Linked DNA regions of Homo sapiens: region 1 is linked to region 2. The links are contacts of gene promoters, found by promoter capture Hi-C in human tissues and cell types (Jung and others, 2019). All regions are on one chromosome and are shown on one strand. Each heading gives the region's core, a stretch centred on a gene start or on the middle of the fragment in contact. The rest is flanking DNA. Distances are from core to core; before and after follow the strand shown.

Evidence for each region. The method cuts DNA at HindIII sites, captures the fragments that hold promoters and counts their contacts. A contact is called where the count stands out against the background at its distance.
Region 1: a contact is called between a fragment that was not itself captured here and the fragment with the promoter of RSAD1 in region 2, in 5 of the 25 tissues and cell types used here (IMR-90 fibroblasts, adrenal gland, bladder and 2 more).

What each region holds. Positions count from the first base shown.
Region 1 is chr17:50,443,435-50,447,766 of GRCh38, forward strand. All of the region lies in intron 1 of ACSF2 (acyl-CoA synthetase family member 2), which reads left to right. Among named protein-coding and RNA genes, the nearest start is that of ACSF2, 19 kb to the left of the region's middle. The HindIII fragment of the contact is 8,957 bases long and covers 1-4,332 here.
Region 2 is chr17:50,477,196-50,481,602 of GRCh38, forward strand. RSAD1 (radical S-adenosyl methionine domain containing 1) reads left to right here and starts at 1,665. Exons shown (of 9, transcript NM_018346.3): 1 at 1,665-1,824; 2 at 2,434-2,567; 3 at 2,685-2,889. The coding sequence starts at 1,690. RefSeq lists silencers at 1,431-1,920, 2,492-2,878. The HindIII fragment of the contact is 23,554 bases long and covers 1-4,407 here.

The DNA of each region.
Region 1 (4,332 bases), core at 922-3,421, 33 kb before region 2:
ATAAAAAGCTCTTAAGTATCAGATTTTGTGCAAACTGAAGATCGATTTAGAATAAGAAAAGAATTTGCTACCAATTGCTGCGAGCTTGAAGATTCTCTTTTGAGCTCTCTTTAAGCAATTTGTCAGAAATGCTGACAGATAAATGCTTCTTGATTTGCAGCCAGCTTTCCCTCTCCAATTTCCAGGCACGCCCAGCACTAGGATGGTAGGGAGGGGCCAGGCTGGGGGGCATGCTAAAGTGTAAGTTTCTTAGGCTTCCTGCCTCTATACTTACCATCTTCTAAAAATCTTATACCAGTTTACACTCTGGTATATTTCTCCACATCCTTGCCAACATTCCATATAATCAATAACTCCTGTTTTTATGTTGAAATTCATAGCCATTTTATTAATCTTCTCTACTTGGGGAGTTTTTTTTAGGCCCTATTGAATGCAGCGTGATCATCTAGTGCTCTAGCTTATCTTAAAATAACCTCTCCCACTGATTGCATAAAGCCAGCAAGAACATGAACCTACTTGGGTTACAAGGATTAACTCTTATTTAGCTGCAACTGCTTTCTAGTACTGCTTATGAATATTCTTTGACAAAAGTGCCTATCATGGAAATTTGAAATTAAATATAGACTCCTCTAGAAAGACAGCAATCTTTGGTTTGGGTAGAGGATTACTGATTTGTTCTATTTTCTCTTCTTGTAATGTTTCATTTATTACAGTATCAGACAGGTTGAATTATTTTATATCTATATATAATTTTTGGAATAGCAGCTTTTTGGCCCCGGTGGTGTAATAATCTAGATAAGTGATCAAAAGGAATTGAGTTTGAAATATCAGCCACTGGCTGGGCGCAGTGGCTCACACCTGTAATCCCAGCACTTTGGGAGGCTGAGATGGACGGATCACTTGAGGTCAGGAGTTTGAGACTAACCTGGCCAACATGGCAAAACCCTATCTCTACTAAAAATACAAAAAAATTAGTTGGGCACGGTGGTGCATGCCTGTAGTCCCAGCTACTCCGGAGGGTGAGGCAGGAGAATCATTTGAACCAGGGAGGTAGAAGTTGCAATGAGCTGAGATCGCACCACTGCACTCCAGCCTGGCGATAGTGTGAGACTCCGGCCCAAAAAAAAAGAAAAAGAAATATCAGCTGCTAAAGGATCAGAGACTAGATATCTTCCCCAGCCCCCGAGTTTCTCTCTCTGCAAACACACACACACACACACACACACACACACACTTTTGCCACCATCTGAAAATAAGTTGCAGGCATCATAATATCCATATTTTTCATCTTTGCTTATCTCGTGGGGAACAAATGCCTCATGTTTGTTTTTCTTTGATCTGTGACATGGGCACCTCTTCCTATGCTTACTGGCCATTTGTCTTCCATCTTCTGTGACTTTGTGGCAGATTTGGTCATTATTGTCTTCTGTGTGTAAGTGTCACTTGGTCTGTTTTGGTGGAAAAATGTTTGCAATTAGATAATGTGGCTTTTTTTTGAGAGATTGGGGCTCACTCTGTTGCCCAGGCTGGAGTGCTGTGGCATAATCATAGCTCACTGCAACCTTGAAGTCCTGGGCTCAAGTTATCCTCCTGCCTCAGCCTCCTGAATAGTTGAGACCACAGGTGCATGCCACTACCCCTGGCTAATTTTTAAATTTTTTATAGAGACAGGATCTCACTGCATTGCCCAGGCTGGTCGTGAACTCCTGGACTCAGGGAATCCTCCTGCCTCACCCTCCCAAAGTGTTGGGATTATAGGCATGAGCTACCGTGCCTGACTTACATGAGGCTGTCAATCAACCTTTTTAGCAGCATCTTGGACCAGTTGCTTAACTTTTTCATCTCAGTGTTCTCCATCTTTAAAACAGGAATAAAAGTCCTCATCTCCCACAAATTGCTGGGACAATTTGCCTCGAAAACCTGTATGATTGCATTACAGAGGAGATACTCAGTGTTCCTTTTCTCTTCTGTTCAGATACCCTGCAGATTTACCCATCTCTGCCTTCCTCTCTGAGAGTGCTTATCTTTTCATAAAGCAGAATCATTACATTCCCGACGTGTCATCAAAAGTGTCTACAGGCTGGGCATGGTGGCTCACGTCTGTAATCCCAACACTTTGGGAGGCCAAGGCAGGAAGAATGCTTGAGCTCAGGAGGTCAAGACTAGCCTGGGCAACATAGGGAGACACTCTGACTCTACAAAAAAAATTTTTTTTAATTATCTAGGTCTGCTGGTACATTCCTGTGTTCCCAGCTACTCAGGAGGCTGGGATAGGAGGATCACTTGAAATTGGGAGGTCAAGTCTGCAGTGAGCTGTGATCATGCCACTGCACTCCAGCCTAGGCTTCAGAGCAAGACCCCATCCTATCTTTAAAAAAAAAAAAAAAATTGTAAAGCTGCCCTCTGGATCTTGCTGGAGCCTTGCATTCAGTAAGCCATATTCTAAATGAACAACTATGCATCATCAGCTGCTCTGTGCTCCTGAACCTGTAGAACATGCATCCACATCTGAAACAGGTTGGCAGGGCTAACAGTCACATTGTACCATGACTGTCCAGAAAACACAGCCTCAGGAAGGAAAAGCCTATGACATTCAACATTGGGACTGTTTATTTTCTTGAGTAATTTCTAAGACAGAGATCATGAACAGATGTGTTTTCTTGGCTTGCCCAGCTTTATTTATTAATGTATATATTTTGCACAGATGTGCTATGTGCTGCTTTTATTTTTCTGACAGAATGTTAAATAGGTACTGCAATGTTGCTAAATTTAGTTTATTAATTATGACTACATTGGCAGTAGCTTAAGCCCTAGAAGGTTTTTTTTTTTAAAACTTCGTGTTGAAATATATGACAGATTCAGAAAAGTACACTTTTTTTTGGAGGCAATCTTGGCTCACTGCAATCTCCGCCTCCCAGATTCAAGCGATTCTCCTGCCTCAGCCTCCTGAGTAGCGGGGATTACAGGCACATGCCACCATGCCTGGTTAATTTTTGTATTTTTAGTAGAGACGGGGTTTCACCATGTTGGTCAGGCTGATTTCGAACTCCTGACCTCAACTGACCCACCCACCTCGGCATCCCAAAGCCACCACACCCAGCCAGAAAAGTACACATATTTTAAGGCCCACTTGATGTACTTTTGATAAAGTGAACACACCCATGTAACCAGCACTCAAATCAAGACACAGAACATGACCAGAAACCAGGAGTTCCCTCGTGACCTCTTTAAGTCACTGACCCTCACCAACTGACCATTCTCCTGACTTCTAACAGCATAGATTAGTTTTGCCTATTTTGTACGTATAAATGGAATTAGACAGTATACCTTTTAAAATCTGGCTTCTTTCATTGAACATTGTTTTATGAGATTCAGATTGCTGGGCATAATCATAGTTCCTTTGCTCTCATTATTGTATAATTACAAATAAGTCACCACTTATTTATCTGTTCCATCGTTGATGGACATTTGGGTATTTTAAATATTGGAAATGATACAAATATCCTAGTACCTGTCTTTTGGTGAGCACATGTTTGATTTCTATTGGATATATACCTAGGAGTAGATTATGCACATTATTTTTTAAGTGTACATTCAATGGCTTATAGTATATTCATAGATATGTGTAACCATCACTATAGTCAATTTTAGAACATTTTCATCACCTCACAGAGTTACCCTATGTCCTTGTAGCTATTATCTCTCTGTCTTCCCATCCCTCCCAGCACTAAGCAACCACTTAATCTGTTTTCTGTCTCTATAGAATTACCTATTCTGGACATATATATGGAATCATAGTGTCTTGTATGATTAAAATAAGGATGGCCAGGTGTGGTGGCTCACTCTTGTAATCCCAGCACTTTGGGAGGTTGAGACAGGTAGATCACTTGAGCTCAGGAGTTCAAGAACAGCCTGGGCAACATGGCGAAACCCAGTCTCTACCAAAAATACAAAAATTAACCGGATGTGGTGGTGCGCGCTTAGAGTCCCAGCTACTCGGGGGGTGCTGGGACAGGAGGATCTCTTGAGCCCCAGAGGCAGAGGTTGTAGTGAGCCGAGATCGCGCCACTGCACTCCAGCCTGGGCCACAGAGTGAGACTCTGTCTCAAAATAATAATAATAATAATAATAATGAGATGATCAAAGTATGATTTCACGAGTCACACAGTTTATTGCCATACAAAGAGTTTTTTTCTTTTTTTGTTCACAGTGCTTAAAGCGGGGAGAATAAGAAAACAAATCTCATAGGGAATACACTCAATAGAGGAGGTCCCTTAGCCACATAGTGAGTGAGTTCCAGTCTGTTAGAATCCAATTATTAAAGTCTAATTG
Region 2 (4,407 bases), core at 415-2,914:
CCCGCCCTGTTTTTCGTTTGTTTGTTTGTTTGTTTGATACAGAGTCTCACTCTGTCTCCCAGGCTGGAGTGCAGTGTCGCCATCTGGGCTCACTGCAACTTCCGCCTCCCAGGTTCAAGCAATTCTCCTGCCTCAGCCTCCCGGGTAGCTGGGACTACTGGCACGCACCACCACACCTGGCTAGTTTTTTGTATTTTTAGTAAAAACGGGGTTTCACCGTGTTAGCCAGGATGGTCTCAATCTCCTGACCTTATGATCCGCCCGCATCGGCCTCCCAAAGTGCTGGGATTACAGGAGTAAGCCACCGCGCCCGGCTTCTGCCCTGGGCTTTATACCCTGGGGCCATGTGACATGTTGGGCTGAAGTGTTGAAGGACATGCTTTTTCTAGGGGGACTGGAACAGAGCATGGCTGTGCTGGCCAGTCCTTCCTTCCCTCAGGATGTTGCATTCTCTGCACACTCTACAGTTTTATTTATTTATTTATTGAGACAGTCTTGCTCCATCACCCAGGCTGGAGTGCAGTGGCACTGTCTCAGCTCACTGCAACCTCCGCCTCCCAGGTTCGAGGGATTCTCCCTGCTCAGCCTCCCGTGTAGCTGGGATTACAGGTGCCCACCACCACGCTTGGATAATTTTTGTATTTTTGGTAAAGACGGGGTTTCAGCATGTTGGCTAGGCTGGTCTTGAACTTCTGATCTCAAGTGATCTGCCCGCCTCGGCCTCCCAAAGTGCTGGGATTACAGGCGTCTACAGTTATTCTTGAGAACTACAAGCAAGAAAGGAGGGGAGAACCAGGTCAGTTCAAGGCCACTGGGAGAACTGTCCTGCACCGCCTGCCTCTGAAGCCCATGATGTTTCTGCTTTGTGGGACAGTTGTTCAGGTGCCTGCTTCCCCAGGCCTTCCCCTGCGCCTTCCCCCTCTCTCCTACACACACCATCTGACTGTCCTTCCAGCACGTACACCTCCAGATGCTTGGGTTGGCCTGACCCAAAACAGTCTACTCTCCCGGCCAAGCCAATTGCCCCTGGGATTTTCTGCTCCTCCAAGATCCCGTGCATAGCCCTGGTGGTGGCTCATGCCCTTAATCCTTAGTTACTCTAGATGCTGAGGCAGGAGGATCGCTTGAGGCCGAGGAGTTCAAGACCTCCCCTCTCCCAAATATTTGTAAATGAAATTAAAAGAAAGATCCAGCCCAAGTGTCTCTTCTGCCCTACTGACTCCCACACTCTTAAAACAGATGACCTCACAGCACTGAGGCGGACGGCTCTGGTGTCCAGCAGGCACGGAATTAATACGCCTTGCCTGTCCTGGCCGGTTGGCTTGCCTCTCTCCTGCCAGAATGCAACCTGGCTTTATGCACCTAGATGTCCCCAGCGCCCAGTTCTGAGCCAGGCACATCAAATGTCAAGGAATTGACTGAACAAACTAAGAGCTCCTGGATGGGTCCGGGAACTCGCCCGGGCACAAGGTGCCAAAAGGCAAGCAGCCCGCCTCGCGGCCTGGGGAAAGAACCGACAGGAGGCCGCAGTGAGCGCCCGGGCGCCCGGCAGGTGGCGCCGCAGCCCCGGGCCCGGGCCCTCTTGTCGCGCGGTCACGCAGCCCCTCTTCCTTCCGCCGGCTGCGCACTCACAGTGATCCCTGCGCGCGTCTCCTGCTCGGGTCAGTGCGCCGCGCTGCGCTGGGCGCCATGGCGCTCCCCGGAGCCCGGGCTCGCGGCTGGGCGGCAGCAGCCAGAGCGGCCCAGAGGCGCCGCCGCGTGGAGAACGCAGGAGGGTCCCCGAGTCCTGAGCCTGCGGGCCGGCGCGCGGCGCTTTACGTACACGTGAGTAGGGGCGGGGGCGGAGCCCACGGTGTGTGGCCGCAGCCCTGGCCGTGACCGTGGCCGTCCAAAACCCAGGTGGCGGTTTGTCACTCTATGAACCCGCCTGCCGTGTTTCCGTGCCCCCGTACGAGGTCTGGGATGGGACCCTGTGCTTTGGCAGGGAAATGACTTGGTCCAGAAACCTGAAGTCTCTGCTACTCACCGGCTCGGTGACTCTGACCAAATGGTTCAAATTTCATAACAATTTTCCTCTTAGCAAGACAAAATTTTCTTAAGAGCAGTGTTCTGACTCGGTAGCTGGGAAAATGGCTCATAGGAAAATTGTATGAAAATTATATGATCCCAGAAAGAGCTTGGGTTGAATTCCTTCCTGACGTCTGCTGGTTGGAAGAGGCAGCGTAACAAAGGAGTGAGCCTCAGTTTTCTCACATTGAAGTGGATGTAATAACCCCAGTGCGACCTGCCTTGGGGAGTTGTGTGGCTTAGATGTCCTAGCTACTGTGGAAAGACCTCGGGATAGGGGTGGGGGTGGGGTTGGGGGTGTGTGCGACTGAACCCTGGAAGTGGCCAGGGCAGCTCTCACCGCGCACGTGCACTCACTGCCCCCAGTGGCCTTACTGCGAGAAGCGCTGCAGTTACTGCAACTTCAACAAGTACATCCCTCGCCGCCTGGAGGAGGCTGCCATGCAGAAGTGTCTGGTGACCGAAGCTCAGACGCTGCTGCGGCTCAGCGGGGTGCAACGGTGGGTAGTGGGGGCTGTAGGCAGCGTTTTGGGAAATATTTGGAGGAGTGGTGGGGGATAGGTGCAGGCATCCCAGAGGGCTCCCCCAGGTCTCATTTCTCCATTCTCTTTCCCCAGGGTGGAGTCTGTGTTCTTTGGTGGGGGGACCCCCAGTCTAGCCAGTCCCCACACGGTGGCTGCTGTCCTGGAGGCTGTGGCACAGGCAGCCCACCTGCCTGCAGACTTGGAAGTCACATTGGAGGCTAATCCTACTTCAGCTCCGGGCTCCAGACTGGCAGAGTTCGGGGCAGCAGGGGTTAACAGGTTGTCTATAGGCCTCCAGGTAACCCATGGCACTCACCCCATCCCAGTGCACCCCGCCCTTCAGTGCCATCTCCTCTTTGGTCACATTCATTCATTGGGCAAACATTGATTGAGCACCTTCTGGGTGCCAGGGACACAGTAGGGCCTAGTGCGACACTTTTATAACTCCTTAATTGTCTGCTGCTGTCATAGACCACAGACTTTATGAGAAAGGGATCAGGTGTGGCTTTTCTATTTCAAACACTTACCATAGTGCCTGGCACATAGTAGGTGGTCAAAAAAGATTTGCTACATGACACGGGAGACGCAGACATGTAGCCAGATTATTGCAGCATGGTAAATGTCACCTGTAAAGGGGGTCTCTATAAAAGGCTTCTAGAGTACAGCCTGAAGGGAGGTCACTCTGATGAAATCACTGAAACTTCTCTGGAGGAGATGTTTGAATGAAGAGGAAGAGTTCACCAGGTGAGGGGGTGTGGGGGAAACGACACAGGCCATGGAAGAGCCTGGCATGTTTTGGGGGAGTTGTGAGTCATTCCTTGTGATTGGAGAGGCTGGAAACAAGGTTGCAAGGTAGAGTCCAAAACCTTTGGTGCCTACTAAGGAGTGTGGGTTTTGTCCTAGTAATGATAGGGAGCCATTGAAGGTTTTTAAGTAGGGAGAAACCTAGTCGTCTCAGGTTGACCTCCGATATTTCCGTAGGACTTCCGGGTTGTGGGCTTTGTTCTGATGGAATATGCTGACAGAAACACATCACTTCTAAGATATTCTTACCCCAAAGCGCATATCTTGAATCTAATTGTCAGGAAACCCTGAATTAAGAGATTTTTACAAAATTATTGTGGTAAGAACAGACAGCATGAGATCTACCGTCTTAACAAGTTTTTAAATGTACATACAGCACTGTTAACTATAAGCACAGTGTTATACAGCCAATCTGTAGAAATTATTCATTTTAAATAATTCATTTAAATAATTATAATTCGTAAATAATAATAATTTATTTAAATTCATTAAATTATTCATTTTAAACAACTGGCCTGTATTCTTCAAAAATGCCAGTGTCATGAGAGACAAAGAAAGGCTGAGAATCTAAAGGAGACAGAAGAGACAGCTGAATACAATGTGTGGCCCCTGACTGGGGAGGAAGGAGGAAATTACTACAGTAGATGTTATTGGGACCATTAGCCAAATTTGAATATGACAATGTATTATGTAATGGTGTTGTGTCAGTGTTGCATTTCCTGAACTCTGTAATTGGATTGCAGTTATGTAAGAGAATGTCCTTGTTCTTTAGGAAATACACACCTAAGTATTTAGAGGTTAGGGAGTATAATATCTATAACTGCTATTCAATATAGTGGCCACTAGCCACAGACTAGTGAGCATTTGAAATGTGGTAAGTTAAGTTTAATTCACTTAAATTTAAATAACCACATGTGGCTACTACCTATCATATTGGACAGTACAGATATGAACATTTCCACCATTGTAGAAAGTTCTTTTGGACAGTGCTGGTTTATAATTTACTGTTAAA